Regions from separate parts of the Homo sapiens genome. Here region 2 is linked to region 1. Evidence: promoter capture Hi-C in 16 types of primary human blood cells and fetal thymus (Javierre and others, 2016). All regions are on one chromosome and are shown on one strand. Each heading gives the region's core, a stretch centred on a gene start or on the middle of the fragment in contact. The rest is flanking DNA. Distances are from core to core; before and after follow the strand shown.

Evidence for each region. Contacts are between HindIII fragments. The CHiCAGO score rates a contact against its expected background, and 5 or more counts as called.
Region 2: a contact is called between a fragment that was not itself captured here and the fragment with the promoter of ZDHHC23 in region 1, in 1 of 17 cell types (naive B cells). The highest score is 5.2, in naive B cells.

Annotation. Positions count from the first base shown.
Region 1 is chr3:113,944,565-113,950,110 of GRCh38, reverse strand. It overlaps ZDHHC23 (zDHHC palmitoyltransferase 23), which reads right to left and starts at 2,098. Exons shown (of 5, transcript NM_001320466.2): 1 at 1,921-2,098; 2 at 1,148-1,425. The coding sequence starts at 1,308. GRAMD1C (GRAM domain containing 1C) reads right to left here. Exons shown (of 18, transcript NM_017577.5): 18 at 2,937-4,713. The coding sequence ends at 4,633. RefSeq lists silencers at 1,516-1,615, 1,966-2,465 and an enhancer at 2,180-2,680. The HindIII fragment of the contact is 7,070 bases long and covers 1-3,625 here.
Region 2 is chr3:114,059,613-114,065,158 of GRCh38, reverse strand. All of the region lies in intron 2 of QTRT2 (queuine tRNA-ribosyltransferase accessory subunit 2), which reads right to left. Among named protein-coding and RNA genes, the nearest start is that of QTRT2, 5.6 kb to the right of the region's middle. The HindIII fragment of the contact is 492 bases long and covers 1,967-2,458 here.

The sequences.
Region 1 (5,546 bases), core at 849-3,348:
GCAGAGGAGATGCCTCAGGGGACAGCCAAGGTCTCCAGGGCTAGGAGGGAGGAAGAGTTAGCAAGGTTAATGGAAGAGCTGCGGTCTTGAGTGATGGTGGTTATGGAAACAGCATCATTTCTCCATTCATTAGTGCAAAGTGCTCTATTTTCTCAGTATAGATTTCAGACTAAATCTAAAGAACCTATATTCAAAGACATCCATAAAAAAGACTACACAGTACACTGTCAAGTAAGAACGACAAAGGGTTCACTGGGTTTTTAATAGTCAAGGCTGGTACTAGACTGCAGACCCCAGGGAATGCTTTTCATGGCTGTATTAATGTATCAAGTTCTAAGTCAACAAATTGGCAGTTGCAATGACTTTTTTAACCAGAAATAATTATTAATGGGAAAAGCAAGTTTCCAACATCCCTATCCTTCCCACATTATGACTTCCATTGACAGTGATTTTTAAATATATAATTACTCAGAAAATGGATTAAAACCAGATTATTCACTGTCCGACACCAAATTTTTTCAGTGATGTTAAAAATTCTCTTTTTGGATAGTAATTTCCATCACTTGGAAAATAAAAGCCAAATACAGTATGATCAATCAAGAGTGTTGCTGGTCGCACTGAAAACTGTGAATCCAGGGGAGATACATGCCTTCTGGCTGGAGTTCCTCCCCAGAAACAAGGGGCAAGACCAGTACTAACAGCAGGAAAATGAAATTTCAACCCACAAGGCCCTCTGTGGTCAGGTGCCACCCAGTCCCAAGTAGTCAGTCTCTAAATGCTGAGACCTCTGAGAAGGCAGGAACTTTCTGGAACTATTGTGTTCATTTTAAACTTACAGATTCTGCTGGCTTGCATTTTATTTTATACTAACTTGCCTACTATCCCTTTAAACTGCCTGTTCTCTCCCTCATCTCTCTTTAAACGAAAAATAATATCCTATAAAACAGAGCAGACAGACAGCTGTGCACTACTGCGTAATCCATCTTTCTAAAATCCTCACACTTGACACAGAAGCCAACTCTCATTTTAGATGCTTGGAAATAGAATCAAGAGCAAATTCTAGCATTCTGGGTGGCTAGGTTGAAAGTACACATGGCAGTTCTCAGAAGGGTGATGGGGCCAGCGTCAAGAAATGCTCTGTTCTTACCGATCACACCCTTCATCCAGATCTTGACAATCACACAAACAAGTAGCCACGTGGTTCTTTTCCCCATTCCGATCTATGTACTCGCAGCAGCACAGGGGCTCCAATTCAGGTTCTTCGGTTTTCTTTTTCTTCACAGGCTTCATACTGCCCTTCTGTGTCATGATTTGCACCTGTCACCATGAGGCGTAAGAAGCCCTCAGAAGGTAAAGGTGGAAAGAACACAACTTACATCTCGTAAATAGGTCCACGCCTCTCTCTCTCTGCTTAACCTCCAACGCCTGAGCAATCAAAAATGAGAAGAGAGAGGGGGAGGGGGTCCCGTTTTCATCAGGCTTCTGTGGCTCCGCCTGGCCACACAGGGGGCTCCAGGGTTCTTGGAGGTCTGAGCTGCCTTCACCGCCCCTTCCCAGCCTGGGCAGGCGCCGTCTGGGCACCAGCCGTTCCTATGGCGACAGCCGACCACGCGTCCGGGACAGCCGGGGCGCGGGCGGTTGCGCTCACCTGCGGGTGCAGGCTGGGAGGGCCGAGCGGTCTCCGCTCCAAGCCTGGGCGCTGGTGGGAACTCAGCCTCGGGGCTATAGGGAAAGGCGAAGCATATGCCCGCTAGCAGCGGCTGACACACCAGGCTCCCTGGCAGTGCTCAGGGGTCGCGGTCCAGCCCAACTGGTCGGGCCCCTTGCAGGGTGCGCCTCTCCCGCCCCCGCCAATCCGGAGGACGTGGGCGGGCCTCGCGCACCACCCCGCCAGGAGAATGACCTTGGAAGGGAAGTTACCTGCCCTCTGGCCGGAGGTGCAACTGCAGCCAAAGAGGCGGAGGGGAGATGGGTCGGCTTCCCCGGAGGCACAGACGCGTCTCCCGATCTCTGCTACGCGGAGCCCCGGGCGTGACGGCAGGAGTCTCCGGGACCCGGGCTCCGCTCGGCCGCTCCCTCGCCGCAGCCGCCCACCTGTGACCACAGCCCGCCGCGGCCCGGGCGGCGCGCCCGCCTCCCCGCGCCGTCCCAACCGCCCCTCCGCCCGCCCGGCTCGGTGCGCCAGGTCCACGCGCGCTTCCGGGTGCCCCGCCCCCGGCGCCGGGGTTCCCCGCCTGTCCGCACGTGCGCCGCCCGCCTCCCCGCGGTGCCCGCGGGCGAGGCTCCTCCTCCTGGCCCGCGGCCCTGGCGCCGGGAAGGGGAAAATCGGCTCCCGAGAGCGCGTCCAGGAGGCAGGGGCAGGAGGTGGGTCCCGCACCTCCGGCCTGCCCCGCCACGCCACGCCCCGCCCCGCCCCAGAGGCGGCAGCCGGGCGCCGCCGGTGCCTGCGGGCGGCGCGCCGGTGGGACAGCCTCCGGAGCCCCGGGGTGCGGACGAGGTGCGGAGACGGAAATACGGGAAACCCGGGAACCCGGAGGATTTCCGAACTACGTGAGACCGTGGAGCCGCCAGCCTTCATTCAGACTCCGGCAACAGGCGGTGAGGGAGCTTTCCACCGCAAAATGTTATCCAAGTACCTCCCCCAGTTTCGCTGACCTTCTCTTAAAGGCCCATCACTGCTGCCGGATCTGTTCATTTAGCAACCTGTTCGTTTCATGATTTCTGGCTAGCAGCCTTTACATTGGACCAGCAGGCCTCGCTAGTACTTTTGTTCCAGTCGTCTGTGTATTTGAGATGAAACTGCCCTGAGATGAGAGTCCTTTTTGGGTTTTATTATTGCACAAAATTTCTTTAAAGAGTGTGGGCCCATGTACACGTTTCACTACCGCAGGCTTTCTAGTTTTGTTTTTAAGTAGAAAAAGAAGAAAAACTACAACTCAGAAATTTTCAATTTTATTAATATTCAATTTACGTAACAGGCTCAAATTTTATTAATTGAATTCTGCATCCATACGAATTTAGTCTTAATTTATAAAGCAACTTACTTCGATACTCTTCCTTGAAGTATGTTATAAAATACAACGTTTAAATAAACATCACAAAAATATTGTTTGTCGATCATTTTTGTGACTTTAACAGAGAAATCTTCAAGTTTATAATCCACTCATTCTTGCTTACAGCCAGACACTACATAAATCCTTACCAAAACAAAACAAACCCAGGTAGGTTCACTGTTACCCCTAGGTATGCTTCGTTGGAATTCACCCAGAGAAACCCATTTTCCCTCTAACGGAGTCAATACTTTCATTCTCTACAGGCATCTCAAAAATGACTATAATAATGCCATGTGGCTTTGGGGACTCTGGAGAAAAATGAAACATTTAATTAAAGGCAATAGTTGTTCAAACAGTAAGAATGTATACACAGTTTATATATAGATAGATAGATGGATATGTATTTTTTCCCCAGAGAAAGGGCTCAAGAGACAAAACAGTAAAACACTTCAACTTTCCCTAACTCTTGAAAAAATATCTGATTTTAAGTCAGTTTACAAAGTTCTTATTTTAATGAGCCACTTGTATGGAGACACATATGCATAAAAACTTTTTATGAAAGAGCCAAAGCTTGCATCTGAGTTAAAACTTGATAGTCAGTACACTTGTACTGGGACATACGTGCCCCTGAAGTTTTTATTAAAGAGCTAAAATCTATGTCTGGCTTATAACTTACCAATCAAAACAAGTCACACACATACATAAAGAAGGAAGCCATACATGGTTACTGAAAATACACAAATTATTTTCAACCAGATGTGTCACTTCCACCATGAAAGACTGCTAAGCTGAAGCCAATCTTAGTTCAAGTATGCATTTGATCTGTCACTAAATGCCCAGATTTTAACATAACCTTCTGGTTTTTAAAACTCAGAGGATGGTTCTTCCTTTTGACTGTTGGTATTCTAAGTGAGGAGGCAAGATAATCCCACCTCTGATAGTTACCTTAAGAAAAAACAACTATTTCTTTCATAAAGATACAGCATGGCAGAAGACCCTTTCTGATAATCATCATCAACATGCAGATTCAAAAAGTTTGACTATTAAATTTGCATGCTAAATAAATGAAGACATTATAATCTTTACAGTACACAAACCTGGAAATGTTATATGCCTGAAAACAGAACCTTTAAAATCAGTAATGACATAGAGGTTTCTTCTTATATTGTCCTGTTTATCCTCTTGGTCTTATCTCAGTTACAAAAGCGACCTATTGGACATGTACGGATTCTGTGCTAACAAAGCATCAGACTTCACTGTAGAAATGAGACCATACCACTCAATTCAGGGTGTGTCATTTTCTTTTTGTATCAGAGAAATTCAGTTCTATAATATATTTCATGGTTCACTGAAGAAATTCACAGCTTAAAAATATCTATAAGAAGTGAAAGGATGGATTATTAAGGCCAGCAGAAACTAATTATCAAATAAATGTTACTGAAAGAAATGTTCATATTAGAAATCTCAATAATGAAAAAACATAGAAATGTTCTATGCCAAAATCCTTCATTCGTCTGGTTTTCTTCCAGGTATTTTCTTTAAGTTCCAAGTATCTCTGCGGTTTTAGTCCTTCAGATCACTAGCTTTCAACAGCCATGCCAGTCTTATTCTTATTTAGTAGATCAAACGTTTTCTGAAGCATAATGAGTGAGCTCTTCAGCTGTAAACAAAGTTAATTTTCAAAATCAGATTAATTTTTCTAATCAGATTTGAAAATTTCTGTTTTTTATGCCCAAAATTTACAGTGACACTTAATATAGTTTTGTTTATACTGATGCCCAAATAAAACGTTAAATACAAAATACCTGATTCTTTGGGGTATCTATCAGTATGATTGCTACAGAGTTCTTCCCATTTGCTGGAGTATTGTACTTCTTCCTACTGCTACATAGTCTACCTCCCAATAGGTCCATTAATCAAATTAAGCGTAGTGACAGACTCGTTTTCCTAAAAGATTTCTGAAGTTGCAGTGGTCTCCTCACTATCCCCTAAACAACTCAAGTTTGCTTCAGTGCCTTTGCATGCTCTCATCCTCATGTTCTTCACCTAAAACTTACTCATATTCACACTCTTCATGTAGTTTTCCCCAGTCATTCTGCCTATAAACTCCCAAAGCATTATCCTTACTACTTAACACTTTGACACTGAATTTTGTAATCTTTGTCATTAACAATACACCTGGACATCTCATTTCTCTAAGAAAATTGTGTGCAACTCAAGAGCAGGAATTATGTCTTACTCTTTTTTTGTATTCATTCAACAAATATTTGTTGCTTGCCTATCACATGTTGGGCAGTGTTCTAAGCACTGGATATACAATGGAGAACCAAATAGGCACTGTCCTGTCCTTCATGGAGCTTACAGACTAGTCAGGGATCCAGAACTATTAATAAAACAAATAATCACATACATAAATATATACTTAGATATTTTATTAAGTTTTTGACTTGAGCAGCTGGTGGATGGTAGCATCATTTTCTGAAATGAGACCCA
Region 2 (5,546 bases), core at 963-3,462, 110 kb before region 1:
TTCAGGAAAATGAATGATAGCATGCTTATTACTGCTTCCAGTCTAAATATTTTCATAGATATCAGGAACGGGGGAATGGGAAAAGACATAAAGAGAATAAGACATCTTCCCTAAGGTCCCAGAACCACATATTGGCATCAACTAATTTTAAATTTAGTCATGGAATTTTTGTCTGAGCTGATGAAAACCAAACAAATGAAAGAACAGAATTAGAAAGACTAATCATGGAAAGAATGCCATGAAGCCAAGGCTCTCTCAGCCTTGAAAATGTATACAGAGAACAGTAACACTGCTTAGGCCATACTGATTATTGATATAATCCACTTTTTTCTTTCTCCAATTTGAGGGAAGGCTAAGCAATATAGCAATTTTTTCCTAATAATGCTGTTAAGTGAAGAAAAGAGCATCCTGGTGTTTATGAAAATATATGGAAAAATAAATGTCAAAACATAAACAGATCTCTGAGGTCGGATTATTTCCCAATTTGTTCTTATATGGTATCCAAACAGAAGTGAGAAACTGTGTGGAGCATACACGCAATCCATAAGCAAAGTGTCATTACTTTTATAACTGGGAAAGACTAATATGTGTTTAAAGAAAAAAATAAAGATACACTTTCTAACTTCTATAGATATACAGGGAAAAAAAATCAGAAAACATTATCAATTACTTGTTGGGTGCTCCTAAATGATTTAGTATTCAGTGAAGCAAAATACTGGGTTCCACTTTTAAAATGCACTACAGAACTTGATAAGCACACACATCATCGGCTAAATGTCACCAGACATACCAACATTTTACAAATACTTCATTACATCTCTACAGCAAGTACCATATCTTCTGGAATTCTTAAAAACTGGGCCAGGCCCAGTTTTATTAGTTGACAAATGAGCTATCAGAGAGGATCCAATTTTCTTTTCTTTTCTCTCTTTCATTTTTTTTTGGACACAGAATCTCGCTCTGTCACCCAGGCTGGAGTGCAGTGAAGCGATCTCAGCTCACTGTAACCTCTGCTTCTCGGGTTCAAGAGATTCTCCTGCCTCAGCCTCCCAAGTAGTTGAGATTACAGGTGTGTGCCGCCATGCCCAGATGACTTTTGTATTTGTAGTAGAAATGGGGTTTCACCATGTTGGCCAGGCTGGTCTCGAACTCCTGACCTCAGGTGATCCGCCCACCTCAGCCTCCCAAAGTGCTGAGGTAACAAGCATGAGCCACTGTGCCCGGCCAGATCCCATTTTCTTAAGCATTATAGCATACCATACTCTGAAAGTCAACCATTGTTAAAATGTCACCAAATAAATAAGACATATCTATCATTAGTTAAATATATTCAAGAATAAAAACATTACTTTTTTTTAGGAGACATAAATTCTTAAATTTAAATAAAATAGCCATCTTTGTCATTAGAATCTTAGACATAAGAATAACTACTTTCTTAAAAAAAAAGAATAACTACTTTCTATATGGTCTAAGAAGAGATTTTATGCTAAACACAAATTATAAAAACTAATATAAGTGTTTGATGAAAGCCTGGTCAATTTTCTATAACTATGAGATCATTATTTCAAGTTATCACTAAGATAGAAACATACAAATAAGTGTCATTAGAACCCACATAAATGGAGACTGGTAAGGAAAAAAAGGTTATATTTTAATAAATAGTATAAAAGCTATTTTTTTACATACCCTATTGTTACACATTAAAACTGCTAAAACAAGAAGGTTCATTTAAGAAAACTGTAAAACTATACTTATAAGCTAATAAAAGCATACTGTAGAAAATATAAAAGAATTGTAATCTTTATTTATTTATCAGATAATACTGATTTCAAGTGATAAAAATGTATTTTATATTTTAAACCAACAGAGTTCTAATGTGAAATTTAAGACAGACTTTTGTAATCTAAGTAGCTCTGGAGAATTGAAGCAGGGGGAAGCACAAAGATGAGAAATGTACTTCAAAGCTTCATGAATCAATACCTGTTGTTCTGACTGAATATTGAAATCAACCAATATGGAACACTAGATTTCTTGAAACACAAATAAGAACTAATGAAAATTAAACGGACCAGAATTTTTAAATGCTGCAGTAACTTACGCATTTCCTACTATCACATACGTCTGAGAACGGAAGAAACTGTGTTGCCCGAAGCTATTTCAGAAAGGGCTAGAGACAAGAACTTGCTGGCTCCTCCAAAAATTCTATCTTACTCCAAAAATACTCTCTCATCTGAGCTGTGTAAAGTATGTAAAGAGTTTAAATGTACACACATGAACAGTGTTTTTTAAATTAAATTCATATAAAGGCACGAAGAACCTTCATTGGGTAAAACTAATACGTTTGAAAAATGAAGTATAGGATTCTAGAATGTTACTTTTATTATCTCTCCTCATCAAATTTATGCTCTCGTTTCTCCAGTTTATTAATAAATGACACAAATGACTGACAACCAAAGCTTCTGACAAGCATGAGATAATCTGCTTTTCCATGTTGTGTTAACTGAATTCCAGGTAAAAACAACAAACCCCATTGCTTTAGTAAAACTGTGCTTAATATCCCAGTATTGTATAATTACCATTAGACTTTAGAAATACTGAAAATAGTTTATAGAGTTCCATTACTACCAGAGACCCCTACCTGGGAATTCCTCATCACCACATCACCCCTTCTGCCATTTTATTGTAATCAGTCTGAGACTAGGCCTGCTTAGTCATAGGCTTGTCTAGAACCTGGGCCTCCTGCAAAAGGCCTGTATTCTTTTTATTCTTTTTTTTTTTTTTTTTTTTTTTGAGACAAGGTCTCACTCTATTGCCCAGGCTGGAGTGCAGTGGTGTAATCACGGCTTACTGTAGCCTTGACATCCCAGGCTCAAGTAACCTTCCCACCTCAGCCTCCTAAGTAGCTGAGACCACAGGTGCCCAACCACTGCACCTAACTAATTAAAAAACTTTTTTTGGAGAGATGGAGTCTCACTACGTTGCCCAGGCTGGTCTCAAACTCCTGCGCTCAAGTGATCCTCCTGCCTTGACCTCCCAAAGTGTTGGGATTACAGGCGTGAGCCACTGCACCCATCCAATTATGGCTTTTATGTGAGAGTAAATTTAACATGCTAGGAGATGCATTCAGATTTTTTTTTTTTTTTTTTTAGAATATCCTGCAGCATACCATGGCCACTGAAAATAACAAGATTTTTCAAAAGTATATGTGAAATCTATGAAACATCTTTTTGTTTTTTTCCCCTAGAACACACTGTGGAAAGTCATAAAAAGAAAGTGGCTTTGGTTGGGCACATTGGCTCACGCCTGTAATTCCAGCAGTTTGGGAGGCCAAGGTGGGCAGATCGCTTGAGCCCAGGAGTTCAAGAGCAGCCTGGGCAACACAATGAAACCCTGTCTCTACAAAAAATACAAAAACTAGCCAGGAATGGTGGCATGCACCTGTAGTCCTAGCTACTTGGGAATCTGAGGTAGGAAGATCCCTTAAGCCAGGGAGGCAGAGACTGCAGTGAGCCATGATCACGCCACTGGCACTCCAGCCTGGGCAACAGAGGGAGATCCTGTCTTAAAAACAAAGAAGAAGAAAAGAAAGAGAAAGAAAAGAGATAAAAGAAAGCAGCTGTCAAGTTCTTTAACCTGTGCCAACAGAATTACACAGGGGCTCAAAGATTAGCCACCTGCTGCTGCTCCCTCCAGTGCCTTACAGTCTTGTACTGCTTGGAGGGCTGGCTGGCCACTGGTAAGGGATTTAGGCTTCTGCCTGGTAAGCTGAGCCTGATCTTTTCTATATACCCAGCACAGAGCCATCACTCAGGGTCAGGCTCAAACCTATCAACCTCAGAGACTAAACAATAAAATCAGTATGCACAATTATTTACTCTGAGAATCGAAAAAAGCAAAGTGGATCAGTCAGTGGCATGTTTGCCCTATAGAATGCAATACATGAAGCCAAATATGCCATGCAAGCATAGAATCAGAATGGGAAGAAGAAGGTACATAAAGGCAACTAAAAGGAAACCCATCGGTTTTCTTAACACAGTACCCCCATTCACAGTTCTGCTTTCCAGTTTCAGTTACCCATGGACATCCGAGGTCCAAACATATTAAACGGAAAATTCCTGAAATAAACATAAGTTTGAAATTGCATGCCATTCTGAGTAGCATAATGAAATCTCTCACCATTTTGCTCTGTTCCACCCAGGACGTGAATCATCCCTTTGCCCAGCATCTTCACACTGTAGACGCCACTCGCCCCTTAGTTACTTAGGAGCTGTCACATTGATCAGATCAACCGTCACTGTATTGCAGTGCTTATGTTCAAGTTACCCTTATTTTACTTACGACTGGCCCCACAGCACAAGAGTTGTGATGCTGGCAATACGGATATGCCAAAGGGAAGCCATAAAGTGATCCCTTATGAGAAAAGGTTAAAGTTCTCCAACTAGGAAAAGAAAAAAGACTGTTTGCCGAGGTGACTAACATCTACTACTGTGCCTAATTAATAAATTAAACTTTATTATAGGTATGTATAGATAGGAAACATCATACTGTCTGTCTATTGTCTGTCTATCTATTTAGGGTTTGGATCTATCTAATCTATCTATCTAATCTATCTTATCTATCTATCTATCTATCTATCTATCTATCTATCTATCTATCTATCTACCTACCTACCTACCTACCTACCTATCTATCTGGGGTTTGGAACCATTTGCAGTTTCCAGCATCCACAAGGGGTCTTGGAACATATTCCCCACAGATAAGCGAAGATGACCAAACAACCAATCTCAGATTCTCCAAGGTTGGACACAAGGATTCTCTAAGAGTATAAAGGCAGCCAGACCTGGAAGCCCAGACCATTGGCTTCCAAGACTTACCTTTCTCTCAAAGACTTCTTAGTTTCATCCTTGTGTAAGGAAAGAATGAACATATTCTAGAAGTTCCCATCTTTTAACAAACGAGTCTCAAGTGTGATTAATCATCCACTCAGTCCTGAAGGCATCTTCTCTCTTCTTTCTCATCTCCCCTTCCCTCTCATCTCCCCTTCCCACTCTTTCCTCAACTGAAGAAACAACTTTCTTGATTCTTAACTGAAAGTCTGTAATTAGAGGTCCTTTGTAACTCTAAAGGACATTGGCCACCATGTTCTTAGAGGCAGAGATGGGCTCTCCTGTGATATAATGCTTTAATCCCAAATAACTTTAAAGATGAAATTCAAAATCCTCAGCTTAGAATACTGAACCCACTCAGCCAGCTGGAGAGAAATACCTACTTGGCTTTCTCTACAGTGAACGATTTTGGTGCTACATACTCACTTCTGTTGTTTGGGGCTTCATAAAAGTTCCACCCTAATCACAGTAACTCAACATATTAACGAAGAGAAAAATAAGGAAGCAAAAGCAGATGACTGGGTTTAAGAAAAAGTATTAAAATAAACTGCCATGGTCAGTGATTCTGTTTTGTGGGGATGAATGCAAATATTTTAAAATCTGAGGAAAACATCAGAGATGTACTATACTTCAGCTGGAAATCAATATTTTTTTTAAAAA